Linked DNA regions of Homo sapiens: all the other regions are linked to region 1. Evidence: promoter capture Hi-C in human tissues and cell types (Jung and others, 2019). All regions are on one chromosome and are shown on one strand. The core of a region is centred on a gene start or on the middle of the fragment in contact, and the rest is flanking DNA. Distances in the headings are between cores, read along the strand shown. Region 1 holds the start of RNF180 (ring finger protein 180). Region 2 overlaps IPO11 (importin 11). Region 3 overlaps ADAMTS6 (ADAM metallopeptidase with thrombospondin type 1 motif 6).

What was found. The method cuts DNA at HindIII sites, captures the fragments that hold promoters and counts their contacts. A contact is called where the count stands out against the background at its distance.
Region 2: a contact is called between a fragment that was not itself captured here and the fragment with the promoter of RNF180 in region 1, in 1 of the 25 tissues and cell types used here (dorsolateral prefrontal cortex).
Region 3: a fragment that was not itself captured here is called in contact with the fragment with the promoter of RNF180 in region 1 in 1 of the 25 tissues and cell types used here (hippocampus).

What each region holds. Positions count from the first base shown.
Region 1 is chr5:64,164,045-64,168,373 of GRCh38, reverse strand. RNF180 (ring finger protein 180) reads right to left here and starts at 2,531. Exons shown (of 8, transcript NM_001113561.2): 1 at 2,421-2,531. The HindIII fragment of the contact is 11,374 bases long and covers 1-4,329 here.
Region 2 is chr5:62,414,497-62,418,825 of GRCh38, reverse strand. The region is part of intron 1 of IPO11 (importin 11); the gene reads right to left. Among named protein-coding and RNA genes, the nearest start is that of IPO11, 3.9 kb to the right of the region's middle. The HindIII fragment of the contact is 5,612 bases long and covers 1-4,329 here.
Region 3 is chr5:65,364,037-65,368,365 of GRCh38, reverse strand. The region is part of intron 7 of ADAMTS6 (ADAM metallopeptidase with thrombospondin type 1 motif 6); the gene reads left to right. Among named protein-coding and RNA genes, the nearest start is that of ADAMTS6, 120 kb to the left of the region's middle. The HindIII fragment of the contact is 4,500 bases long and covers 101-4,329 here.

The DNA.
Region 1 (4,329 bases), core at 1,282-3,781:
ATTTTAAACTATTTTTAAACTGCCCTTTTAAAACTGCCTTCGTAGCCATCAGGACAATCCTTTAAATATCCTTAATAGTGGTAAAATCTTGAAGGTAGAACTGAGTTTTACAACCATGTAGAAATCATTCTGCCAAATTTAGCAAAGAAAATAGGTACTCAAGCTGAATTAGTTTTTTGATTAAAAAATAGAAACAAAAACAAGTGTTTATGAATGTTATCATGAAATGTTTTTATTTTGCTTGTAAATTGACTAGAAATTTCAAAAAATACAAAATAATTATGAATGGCAGCAGCACTACTGGAATAAGTTTTTAGCCTCCTGAGGTGACTACTTGGAATGACCACTCTCTAAAAATATAAACGACAGCACGTTTAAGGAGGGAAAATGTTTCAAGACTCTGCAATCACATTTCAAAGTTACAAAGCTGCTTTCTTCCGTGGAGTTCAAACTACTTTCGAGATATTACTTCATTAATTCCCCAAATATCCCTATGAAGGAAAGGACACATCACCATTCTTTTTTCAGATGGCCAAATGGAGGTGGTATAAGGGAGAGAGAACTGTGTTTATTCCATGAAAGCAACAATTAAGTCTAAGCACACTGTCCCCTTGTACTATGTAGTTAGCAAAATTTAAGCGAAATTTTTAATCTTTATGCTCCTTAATGAAAAAGACATTGTAAGAGTAAAAAGCATTATCATTCAGGTAGCTATGTCATATTACAGAAATATATTAAAATGATTAATTTATTGCATTCTTGCCTGGAAGAATTCCTGCTTCATGTATGAGGTGCTTATTAAAGAGGCTGGTGTCGGTCCTCAGACACACTCAAAAAAGTGCTAATTAAGTCTATTTTATCAAGAAAGAAATCTTGTTGATTTTTTCAATATTATTTTTTGAATTTTCGAAGAAAAAATCTTCACTTTGAAAAACCAAACACACAAAAAATGAAAGAGAGGAAGAAAAATGGGGTAATAAAATACCATTGACAAAACTAAGAGCAAACCCTAGGGAAACTGGTAAATTGTTGATGGTTCCAGAGAGATAAAGTACAACATAACACGTACACAATTACGAGATAATTTTTCATTACAATAATTAAAATGACTATTCTCCTAAATTTTTGATTCTTTATGAGAAAAAACTTACTCAAATATTCCGGGAAACCTAACAGCTCGCCTCCTCGATTCTACTTATTAAATAAATATTTAGAGTTTCTGCCATTGTCACCAAAGTATCTTTGGGCTGCCAGTGGCACTACATTTATACAAGAGACGAAAGTCTGACAGATAAAAGACAACGGAATTTTACTTCTTTCTACGACTCAAATGATACCACTCATTTGAAACTGAAGTGTTTATGATCTTTCAAGTATCACTTTTAGGGGTACTATAACAGGAGTCTGAAAGGAATTGACTCTATTTTTTAAGAAAGGTTTTAACAATTAATGAGTATATAAAAATACAATGAGCATCAGACCGTCCATCTTTGAGAGCTAAATTTTGTTTGAGACTAAGAGACCAACTGGACCAAGGACAACTCTAGTCAGACAAGTTCTAATCACAGATTCCACAAGGATTGACTGCTTAGTTTTGATATAATCACTTTGCCTCTTGGGTGCCTCAGCTGTCTGGTCTATAAAATGGGATAATAGTAACCCGACCGCATAATGCTCCTTTGAAGTTAACTAATGAATGCTCTCACAGATACACTTACAACTGTTAGATGCTACGAAAATAATGAGCACTATCTCGAAAAAAAACAAGGTGGAATATATGTGTTAGTGTTCATAACAGCACTAGTAATTTCCCACCAAAGGACCATCTCCCCACCTCCGCCCGATGGATTTCAGAGCTTATGACCTCTGCCTAGCAGAAAGTCGTACACTCCGGACCCAAGGCTGCAACAAAAGCGACTGCGACGCCGATACTGAAATGGGCTAGACAAAGGAAAGTGGAACCGTGCAGAGGGAATCGGCCGTGGAAGGGGCTGTGTGGTCCCCACAAGCTCCGAAATTAAACAAGACGCAGTTCCCCACCTCAGACCTGGAGAGGGTTCAGTACTGGACCCCTGGCACCCACCCCACCTTCCCCGGCCTCCTCCGCCACACCTACAGCGCCTCGCCTCCAGGACTCAGCTTTTTCGACCCTGTGTAATTCCAACCTCCAGGTGGGCGCGCCCCGAGGCCGCTCCGAGAGCCTCAGGTGCGAAAGTTAAGCCGCGGCCGCGTCACCTGAGGCCCGCCGGGCGAGAGGCGGCCAGGCCAGCGGCAACCCTAGCCCAGCCCCTTGGCACGTCCCCGCCTGGGCCAACGTGGGGGCCCGGGCCACCGCGGCTGGGTAGGGCCCGGCCGAGGCCAGGTCCCTCCGAGAGGCGCCGCCGCCGCGCCCCGCCCGACTCCGACCCGCCGGCCTTTACCTGTATCCACGTCCCGGAGCCTCCGGCTTCGCGCCCCGTCCCGGCGCTCCCGGCCGCCAGCAGCCAGGCTCTGAGGACTCGCTGCGGCTCCGGCGGCGGCGATGCCGGTTCGGCGAGACGGGAAGCGACAGGAGCCAAACCCCGCGGAAAGCGCTCGAGCTGTGCCTGCAGCCCCGACCCCGCGGCCTCGGACGTGGCGCCCCGGCGCTCGCCCGCCACAGCCAGCGGCCCTGCTCGCCCCACGTCTGCGGGTTCCCACCCGAGCCGCGCGTGGGCGGCGCCGGGCTTTGACCCCGCGCAGGCAGACAAGCGCCGCGGGCCAGACGGAACCGTGGGAAAGTTTTTCTCCCTTGTCATCCCCTTACCAGAGCCACAGAAATTATCCCTGTGGTCTCCCTTGTCCTCACTCGGCCTTTTCTGGAGTTAAGAGATCCAAGCCAACTACTGGGTCTGTTCCCTGCTAAAATCTTAGGCCGGCGTCCCATCCACCCATCCCCATGCCTAGGACTTTTAAGCTGGCAACGCTACCTGGGTTTAGTTTTCCCTTCGTATATCACTATCTTCGTTGCTTACCTTCTTGTGCCTAAAGTTCCACCGATGTGCAAGGAGATTAACCACTAAAGTGCACCTGACACTACTCTTGACAAATTGCAGTTGGGAGGTGAGTTGATGACTGGCGGTAAATCAAAAGTGCTTATTTAGGGAGTGAGGGGGCCGCGTGCAGTAAATGTTGACTTGCAGGTGCCTCATAGATGATCAAACGACTATAAATAAGATTCGGAATATAAAAAGCAAGTTTTATTAGTTGGCTTGAGGAGAGGGAAGGGAGCTAGGAGGGAACCTCAAAAAAAATATACAGCTTTGTTTCTCTGCTAGATACAGAAATTTTTATTTGCCTGAAGTGGCTTACTTGGAAACTTGTCCTAAGATTAGGGCTGTATGCAGTGACTTCCCATCTGGAAATACAAGGAAATAAAGAACAAAATGAAAGACATCACGAGAAAACTACAGACCAATATACCTTATGCATAGTAACATAAAAATCCTCAACAAAATACTAGCAAGCCAAACCCAGCAACATTTTAAAAAATTATACAACATGACCAAGTAGGATTTATCTCAGGAATGCAAGTTTGGTGTGACATACAAAATTAATGTAACACACTACTTTAAATAGACTAAATGTAAAAACCACATGATCATCTCAAAAGATGAAGGAAAAGCAATTGACAAAATCTAACACCCTTTCTTGATATAAACACTTCAACTAGGAATAAAAGGAAACTTCTTCAACCTAATAAAGAGCCTCTGAAAAATCCATAATTAACATCATACTTAATCTTGAAAGAATGAACATTTTCACCTAAAATCAGGAATAAGACAAGGATGTCAATTGTTGCTACTTCTATTCAACATTATAGTGGAGGCACTAGCCAGGGCAGTTAGGCAAGGAAAGGTGGAATATCTAACAGCTAGTAGAACAAAGAGAAGAAAGATAATTACCAAAGAAAACGAGGACAACAGTTCTCAGAGCTAAAGGACAGAAGCACATGAGCTCTCAGTTTAATGGATAAAAATTTTCTATAACCAAGTTGTGAAATTTCAAACCACATGAGTCAGAGAGATCTTAACTTTCATGGAGGAAAAAATAGGAGGTGATTTATGAAGATTTAGAAATCAGAATGGCATTGGATTCTCAACAGAAACATAAATAAAAGATAAATTCTGAGAAAAAAATGATTTCCAATTTTGAAATTGATGAAGTATGAGGTTTAAAAAGACATTTTCAAATATACAAAGGTTTAAATAGTATTTTCATGCATTCTTTCTCAGGAAGCAATTGGAGGATGTATTCTATAACAAAGTGGTTAGACAGAGAATCTGATAGAAAAGAGAAGTGAAGGTGACA
Region 2 (4,329 bases), core at 1,225-3,724, 1.7 Mb after region 1:
TGCATGACCTAGTTATCTATATTAACAGAGACTTGGAGACAATACGTGAACATCTTTAGTGAAATATGTATAAAATGTATCTTATCCCTTGTACAATTTGTTCCCTCTGGCTGGAAAGCTCTGGTCTCTAGATAAAAGCATGTCTTGCTCTTTGACAGCATTCCATTCTGCTCAAGTTGTCCTCTATTTAAAGAGGTCTCCACTAACTGCCAATCTAAAAGGGCTCACTCCTCAACCAAGAATCTCTATGTTCCCGATATCCTTAATTTTTCTGCATAATGCTATTAACTATATGAATGCTGTTCATAGCACTATACTGTTAATAGCTTACTGTACTGGAAACACTTACATTTTAAACTATATGATATGTGTTGGCTGGGTGCAGTGGCTCATGCCTGTAATCCCAATACTTTAGAAGGCCGAGGCAGGTGGATCACCTGAGGTCAGGAGTTTGAGATCAGCCTGACCAACATACTCTACTAAAAATACAAAATTAGCCAGGCATGGTGGCGCACGTCTGTAATCCCAGCTACTCAGGAGGCTGAGGCAGAAGAATCACTTGAACCCAGAAGGCGGAGGTCGCAGTGAGCCGAGATGGTGCCACTGCACTCCAGCTTGGTCAATAAGAGTGAAACTCTCTCTCAAAGAAAAAAAAAAAAAAACTAGGCAGGCGTGGGCATGGTAGTGCATGCCTGTAATCCCAGCTACTCGGAAAGCTGCAGCAGGAGAATCACTCGAACTTGGGAGGCAGAGGTTGCGGTGAGACGAGATTGCACCATTGCACTTTAGCCTGGGCTACGAGTGAAATTCTGTCTCAGAAATAAATAAATAAATAATGGCTAGTTGGAGAGTTGGAAATAAAATAATTAGATAGTTGGAGAGTTGGAGGAGGGGTTACACATAAGTTAATAAGGGGAAAGAATTAAGATTTTGGGCTTTTCCAACTGATTGGTGCCTGCATGGCTCATAGGAGGAAAACAATGTCAGGAAGGTTGAAATACACAACGTTTTTGACATGAATGTCAAGTATTTTAAGACAACTACATATGTCAGCGTTGAAGAGAGACCTGTGCTAAAAAGCCAGATTTGGGAGTCATCAAAATAGAGGCAATAGTTGAAGTCACAAATGAGACCATTCATGAAGAGTGTGCATTGAAGTCCTTATTTCCTAAACTACGTAGTTTGGATTTTTATCTGAAGGTTTTCAGAAGAGAGCAGGGTAGTGCCTCAGAGTCAAACATCTAAAGTGGTCAGAGAAAAGAGAAAAATAACCAACAAAAGACTGGCTAAAACCTAAGAAGGAAATAAGGAAAATATGGTGTCCCAGAAGTATAAGAAGAAAATTTCAAGAACGAACAAGTAGTTAAAATGGCAAATGATTAAACAGATTCCATTAGATTTAGCAACAAAGATATCAATGGTGATCACCACTACATCAAATTCAGTGACTGCTATGGACTGTCAGCCTTCAAAATACCAAAAAAAAAAAAAAAAAAAAAAAAAATTAACCAATAAGGAGGTGAAGAAAATGAATATAGAGAATTCTTTCAAGAAACTTAAAGGAAATAAGCTGGGCATGGTGGCACACACAAGTAGTACCAGCTACTCATGAGATTGAAGTGGCAGGATCACTTGAGCCCTGAAGTTTGAGGCCAGCCTAGGTAACAAGAGACCTTGTCTCTTAAAAAAAGGAGAAAAAAAAAAACTAAGAAAAATAATTATAGATAAAGCTGAAGAGGAATCTAAGAATCTAAGGTAAGGAGCGTATATTTCAGATAAGACTTGATTTGAGGCCAGGCACGGTGGCTCACCCATATAATTCCAATACACTTCAGGAGGCCAAGGCCAGTGGATCGCTTGAACCCAGGAGTTTGAGACAAGCCTGGGCAATGTGGCAAAACCCCATCTCTACAAAAAAAAATTCAAAAATTAGCCAAGCATGGTGGCCTGCGCCTCACCTGTGGTCCCAGCCACCAGAGAGGCTGAGGTGGAGGGATCGCTTGAGCCTGGGAGGCAGAAGTTGCAGTGAGCCAAGATAGCACCACTGCACTCAAGCCTGAGAAACAGAGTGAGTACTCTGTCTCAAAAAAAAAAAATAAAAAAAAAAAAAGATAATAAGAGACTTGGGTATGCTTAAATCCTTGTTAAGTTAGTACTAGTTGAAAAAGGAGTAACTGAATGTTATGGATTGAACTGTGTTCCTTAAAAATTCATGTTGAAGCCCTAACCCCCGAACCCTCAGTATTTGGAGATAAAGTTTTTAAGGTGATTAAGATAAGATGAGGTTGTTAGGGTAAGGCCCTAAACCAATATAACTGATGCCATTATAAGAAAAAGAAACAGCAGGCCAGTGCAGTGGCTCACGCCTGTAATCCCAGCACTTTGGGAGGCTGAGGCGGGCAGATCACCTGAGGTCAGGAGTTTGAGACCAGCCTGGACAACATGGTGAAACCCGTCTCTACTAAAAATATAAAAATTAGCCGGGCGTGGTGGTGAGCGCCTGTAATCCCAACTACTCAGGAGGCTGAGGCAGGAGAATCGCTTGAACCGGGAAGGCGGAGGTTGCAGTGACCTGAGAGCGGGCCACTGCACTCCAGCCTGGGAGACAAGAGCGAGGCTCCGTCTCAAAAAAAAAAAAAAAAAGAAAAGAAAAAAAAAGAAAACAGAAAGATACAGCAGAGGTGCATGTACACACAGGATGACCACGAGAAAAGGCAGCAAGAAGGTGGCCATCTGCAAGCCAAGGATGGAGGTCTTACAGGAAACCAATCTTATCTGCACCTTGATCTTAGACTTCCACTCTCCAGAACTGTGAGAAAAAAAATTCTCTTGTTTAAGCTACCCAATATAAGGTATTTTGTTGTGGCGGCCCTAGCAAACACATGAAGGAAATATTGCCCGTAAGGAGAAAAAACTCAGAATATCATTAGAGATGGACAGATAGAGGTCTTCATGTTTGCAGGTGAAACAGAACAGAAAGCAATGAAGTTCCCACTCAATGTATTTCATTTCCTCTATGAAGCAGAAGGGAACTTTATCCAGTAAAGAGTAAAGAGGGGGCCGGGCGTGGTGGCTCAAGCCTGTAATCCCAGCACTTTGGGAGGCTGAGGCAGGGGGATCACCTGAGGTCGAGAGTTCGAGACCAGCCTGACAAACATGGAGAAACCCCGTCTCTACTAAAAATACAAAATTAGCTGGGCATGGCGGTGCATGCCGGTAATCCCAGCTACTCAGGAGGCTGAGGCAGGAGAATCACTTGAACCCAGGAGGCGGAGGTTGCAGTGAATTGAGATCGCGCCACTGCACTCCAGCCTGGGCAAAAAGAGCAGAACTCCATCTCAAAAAAAAAAAAAAAAAAAAAGTAAAGACGGGGCCGGGCTCACTCCTGTAATCCCAGCACTTTGGGAGGCCAAGGTGGGTGGAGTTCAGGGAGGTCAGGAGTTCAAGACCAGTCTGGCCAAAATGGTGAAACCCTGTCTACTAAAAATACAAAAATTAGCCAGGCTTGGTGGCAGGCACCTGTAATCCTAGCTACTCTGGAGGCTGAGGCAGGAGAACCGCTTGAACCCGGGAGGCGGAAGATGCAGTGAGCAGAGATCACGCCACTGCACTCCAGCCTAGGTGACAGTGAGACCCCGCCTCAAAAAAAATAAAGAGGAAAGGTGGTGGGTTAATAGCCACCATGATAAACAGGAGCAGTTAGCAGGGACACACAGGATTGTTAGGCTGCCTGTACAGTACCCAATAGACGTTTGTTATTGAATGAACACCTAATTGTCATTCATGAATTTTAGTCCGTTTTTAATATAACAAGCTCTGACAGTAACCAGCAAAAGAAAAGCACTGGAATGAGTTGGAATCTGGGTTATAAATCTAGGTATGTGTGACCTTATGCAAGGCACTTACCTTTCTGGGCCTCAGTTTCATCAGACTGGATAATCAGCATAAGATCACCTCAGATTAAAATAAATGATGCTATAAATTTTTATACCGGTTTGTGCATTACCTCAGTGTTCTTCAACTGTTACCAACCAAAGTAGTGCATCTCAAGATTTATTGAACATTCCTTTCATCTAGATAACTTGTTAAAATTGCAGATTTTGATTCAGCAGCTCTGGATTGAGCCTGAGATCATGCATTTCTAATAAACTCCCAGGTGATGCTATATACCACAATTTGAGTAGCAAGGGTAAAGAACACTGATGCAACTTAAGCTCTACAAAGCTTATAACTGTGGACTTATCTGTAATAAGTCTGATAGTCAGCAAACCAAACACACTACAGACTCACACCAGCACTAAATGTGTTTTGCCATTCCTTAAACGCTCT
Region 3 (4,329 bases), core at 1,101-3,600, 1.2 Mb before region 1:
CATTCAAGACTAATAAATTGTAGGCCAATTGAGTTGGTTTTTGTATTTTAAAGGCAAGTGTGCTTTGAATAGCATCAGGATCCAAAAGAAATGCTGTTGCTGGTGAAATGATCATTTAAATAAGCAAAAGGAGTTTCTATTCTTAAATGTAGAGAGACAAATTGATTTCTGATAACCATCTTGCTACAGGGAAATGTGAAATTGGAATAAGAGGGCAAAACAGACACACTAGGACCAATTCTTAAAAGTTAAGTAACCTTTAGTCTTATCTTTATTAAATCTTTCCTTTCAAAATATAGCCCTGTAAATCTTCTGAGTTTTGTGACCTTAGTGACAGTAGACTTTTAGCCTTTGATTACTTTGTGAAATAAAATAATGAATTAAAAAAGATAATTTTTTTGTAGTAAAATATGCCATGGTACAATCACAAATAGAATTTTATGTGATTGGTCATATATATACACATATATATACACATATATATATACACACACATATATATACATATAGATATATATATATGTAGTACTGTTTGGTTTATATACAACAGTTGCCAGTTTGTTCCCCAGGAAACAAGATTAATATTCAGGAAGTTTGTAAGTGGGAACTCTTGGGATTTACACCTGTAGGGAAAGGGATGGAAGCAAGATTGGACAAAAGGAGAAGTTGGATCGTGACGCAGTCAGAAGAAAGGCCTCAACCAGCTGCATGGGAAGGCTGTTTGGAGTTGTTCCAGGTTGAAGTAAGGAGGCTGAGCCTTTGTACTCCAGTATTGACCAGTCATTTGATGCAAATTGCCCCTAGGAGATAGTGTGATCCTGGGCAAGGTAATCTGTACAATTGAGGGTAATTCCCAGAGAGGACTAGATAGCTGAGGGATGACAGCAGTTGAGAAATAAATTCTCCAAACTTAATTGTATCTTGGGAAAATCAGATTTAACTTATAAATTTTAGTTTTACATCTTACTTTTTAGGAATATTACCCATGGTAAGTGCAATATTGTACCCATATGTGTTCTCAAGGCTCTAGGGTTGGAGTATTAAAGATGATTTATTCTAGCTCAGGATAAAGAATGCTCTTTTAAGATTAATATGGAAGCTCCACTTGAGACTCCTCCCACCTCCAAAAATATTAAGTTAATTCTGTTTCAGTCACTTATTTGTAACAGCATCCTGTGTATGCCGAATACTAAAGAGGAATAGTGAGCTGTTATTCAGTTTTTTAGTTTTTAATTCAATTTGATCATGGGAATATTCATTTCAGTACAGCTCCATGATTATCTCTAATTTTTTAAGGATTCTGATGTAATGCATAATTCTTGATTCCCTTGTCCTGTCTCATAAAATAACTGGCTTTTATTTAAAAAGTCTCCCCACCCCCCGCATCATTCTTTTTCTTGGAATGAGAGCTCAGAAAGCACAGAGTCTGTCTTGGTTGTTATCCATGCCTCCTTGCCTCTTGGATAGACTGCTAAAATTTATTTTCTTTTGGCCTTTCCCTGAAAGTCATCCAGAAGCAACAGTATTTATAGAACAGAGCAGCTCTACTACTGAACATGGCAGGGGGTGGTGGCGGGAGGGTATCCTCTGGAGTGTGTATTTACTGCAAGAACAGCAGTCAGATGGATTGAATTTAGATTTTACTGATTTAATACTTAGAATAATCTGAACTTTAAATCTATGAACAGTTAGTAAGAATCTGGGGTCAGCAAGATGATAGCTTTAGGAGCATTGATTTTTATGAAATTAGATTATAATGAACACACTATGTGATGGTCCCACACATCTTATATAGTAGAATTAGAATTTTTGGAGTGAAAATCTACAAGGCTAAAAAAATTAGTAACAGTTTAAGCACCATTTTACTCAGCTACCAGGGGCATTGTGACTAACTTCTTGGTTCAAGTGTTTCTGGTCTTGGTTGGATTCAAATATCATTGGTAGATTTTGGTAGAATTCTATATTAAATATTTTCTTTTCCTTCCCATTGTTCTTTTTCTTTGACTATTTTAAGACATTGTCGGAATGAAAATGTTATAGATAGTACTTTTATAAGACCTGCCAACATTTTTTTACCATTACCATTAGTAAATAACTTAAAATATTTTATATAGGATTCTCTGAAGCATAATTTTTACTTCTACCTTTATCTAAAACTAAAGTTATTACATTCCTTTGTCCCTTAGGAGGTTGCATTTATCAGGTTAGGTGTGTTTGCTTCAGGTTAGTTTTAAAAACAAGTTTCTCTGAGATCTGATGCAATGATTGGTTTTAAACCCAGAACAAATGGATTTTTGTTTTGGGGGTTTTATTCAATGACTTTGTACCTATGGTACCAAAAGAGATTTTTTTTTTTGTTTTATTTAATGATTATAAAGTTCAAAAACAGAACCAGAAACTTATCTCTTAGCATTTGATTATATAGAAATAAATGCTCATTTCCTGGAACTATAGATGTATTAAATCTGTAAAGTGCTGAAAAGCATGTACTCAAGTGAAACAATTGGCAGGCAAAGACACATTTTACTTTGTAAAATAAGAGCTTATATAGGATGTTTTATAGTTTGTATTCGAGCTAATTTTACATAAAAATGTGACCATCTATAAAAGATATACTAAATAGGGTCCTTATAACAGGGTTCCTAGTCCCTTAGAAATTCTGTTCCAAATAATTTATTGAATATTGCTCCTTGTTCAGTTAATTTTTTTTTTTTTTTTTGAAACAGAGTCTCACTCTGTTGCCCAGGCTGGAGTGCAATGGCATGATCTCCGCTCACTGAAACCTCCGCCTCCCAGGTTCAAGTGATTCTCTTGCCTCAGCCTCCCAAGTAACTGAGATTACAGGCATGTGCCACCATGACTGGCTAATTTTTTGTGTTTTTAGTAGAGATGGGGTTTCACCATGTTGGCCAAGCTGATCTCAAACTCCTGACCTCAGGTGATCTGCCTGCCTTGGCCTCCCAAAGTGCTTGGATTACAGGTGTGAGCCACTGTGCCCAGCCTGTTCAGTTAATATTGAGAAGTATTTTCTAAGTTTGCCCACTTGCAAAATCATTTGTGAATACTATGCTTCAGCTTATGAGTAGTTTGGTTTTTTATTACTTGATTAGCATAATTCTATGGAATTATTAAGACATATTATTGTCCCTAATCTTGGTATTGTCTGTATACTCCAGATGAGTGATCTGGAGTATATAATTAACAAATGATAGATCTCCTGATTGCAGTGGTCTTTCTGCCACATCATACTGTTTACCGTGGATGACATCATACTGTTTACTGTGGATGATCAGTTGTTTTGGTTTCAGTACAAGTTAAGTAGTTCCTCTCTGCCTGGGCCTTGAGCAAGCAAAACCTCTTTTAAAAGGAAAGAAATAAGTGGTGTTAGGTTATAAATGATGCAGATCTTCATTAGTCTGGCAAGATCTATAACCTCGTAAGTTGATCTGATTTGAGCATCATATCTATAATAAGTAGCCTGTAAGAAATTCAATCAGGCAGGCCAGGCGCAGTGACTCAAGCCTGTAATCCCAGCACTTTGGGAGGCTGAGGCGGGCAGATCACGAGGTCAGGAGATCGAGACCATCCTGGCTAACACGATGAAACCCCGTCTCTACTAAAACTACCAAAAATTAGCTGGGCGCAGTGACGGGCGCCTGTAGTCCCAGCTACTCAGGAGGCTGAGGCAGAAGAATGGCATGAACCCAGGAGGCGGAGCTTACAGTGAGCCGAGATTGCGCCACTGCACTCCAGCCTGGGCGACAGAGCAAGGCTCTGTCCCAAAAAAAAAAAAAAAAAAAAGAAAGAAATTCATTCAGGATTCCATAGTCAATAACTTAACAAAAGGCAGCAGGAAAGCTTTACTGATGATAGTGTTACCAGCGCTGTGTTTCAAAACTCCAGGGGGCATACTCATATTGTATTCTTTATGTTATCCTCTGGTGTTGTGCAACATGATGATACTCCATGATATTTTAAGAATATTGAAAGAGAGTTGTTTAATGAAAGAGCTCTGAAGATTGAGCTCTTTTATTCTGGCTAACTCTGATAATCAGTAAGTCATTTTCCCAGAGAGAATCTTTTCGTCTTAAAAGGCTGAGGTCAACTGTCACAGCTGCAGTTTCTCCAGGGAAAAATAGTCCTTGTACTTAGCCAAAAACCTTTCAATCAATATTTGAAGAGAGAGCCATATCCTGCAGTCAAATTGAGGGTAGTTTTGCCCCCTTCAAACACAGAGCAGTTGGCTTTTTAGATGGATGAACTGCGTTTGGCCAGGTGACAGGAGTTCAGGACACTAGAGTCCTTATCAAATCTTCATGTGATTTTTGT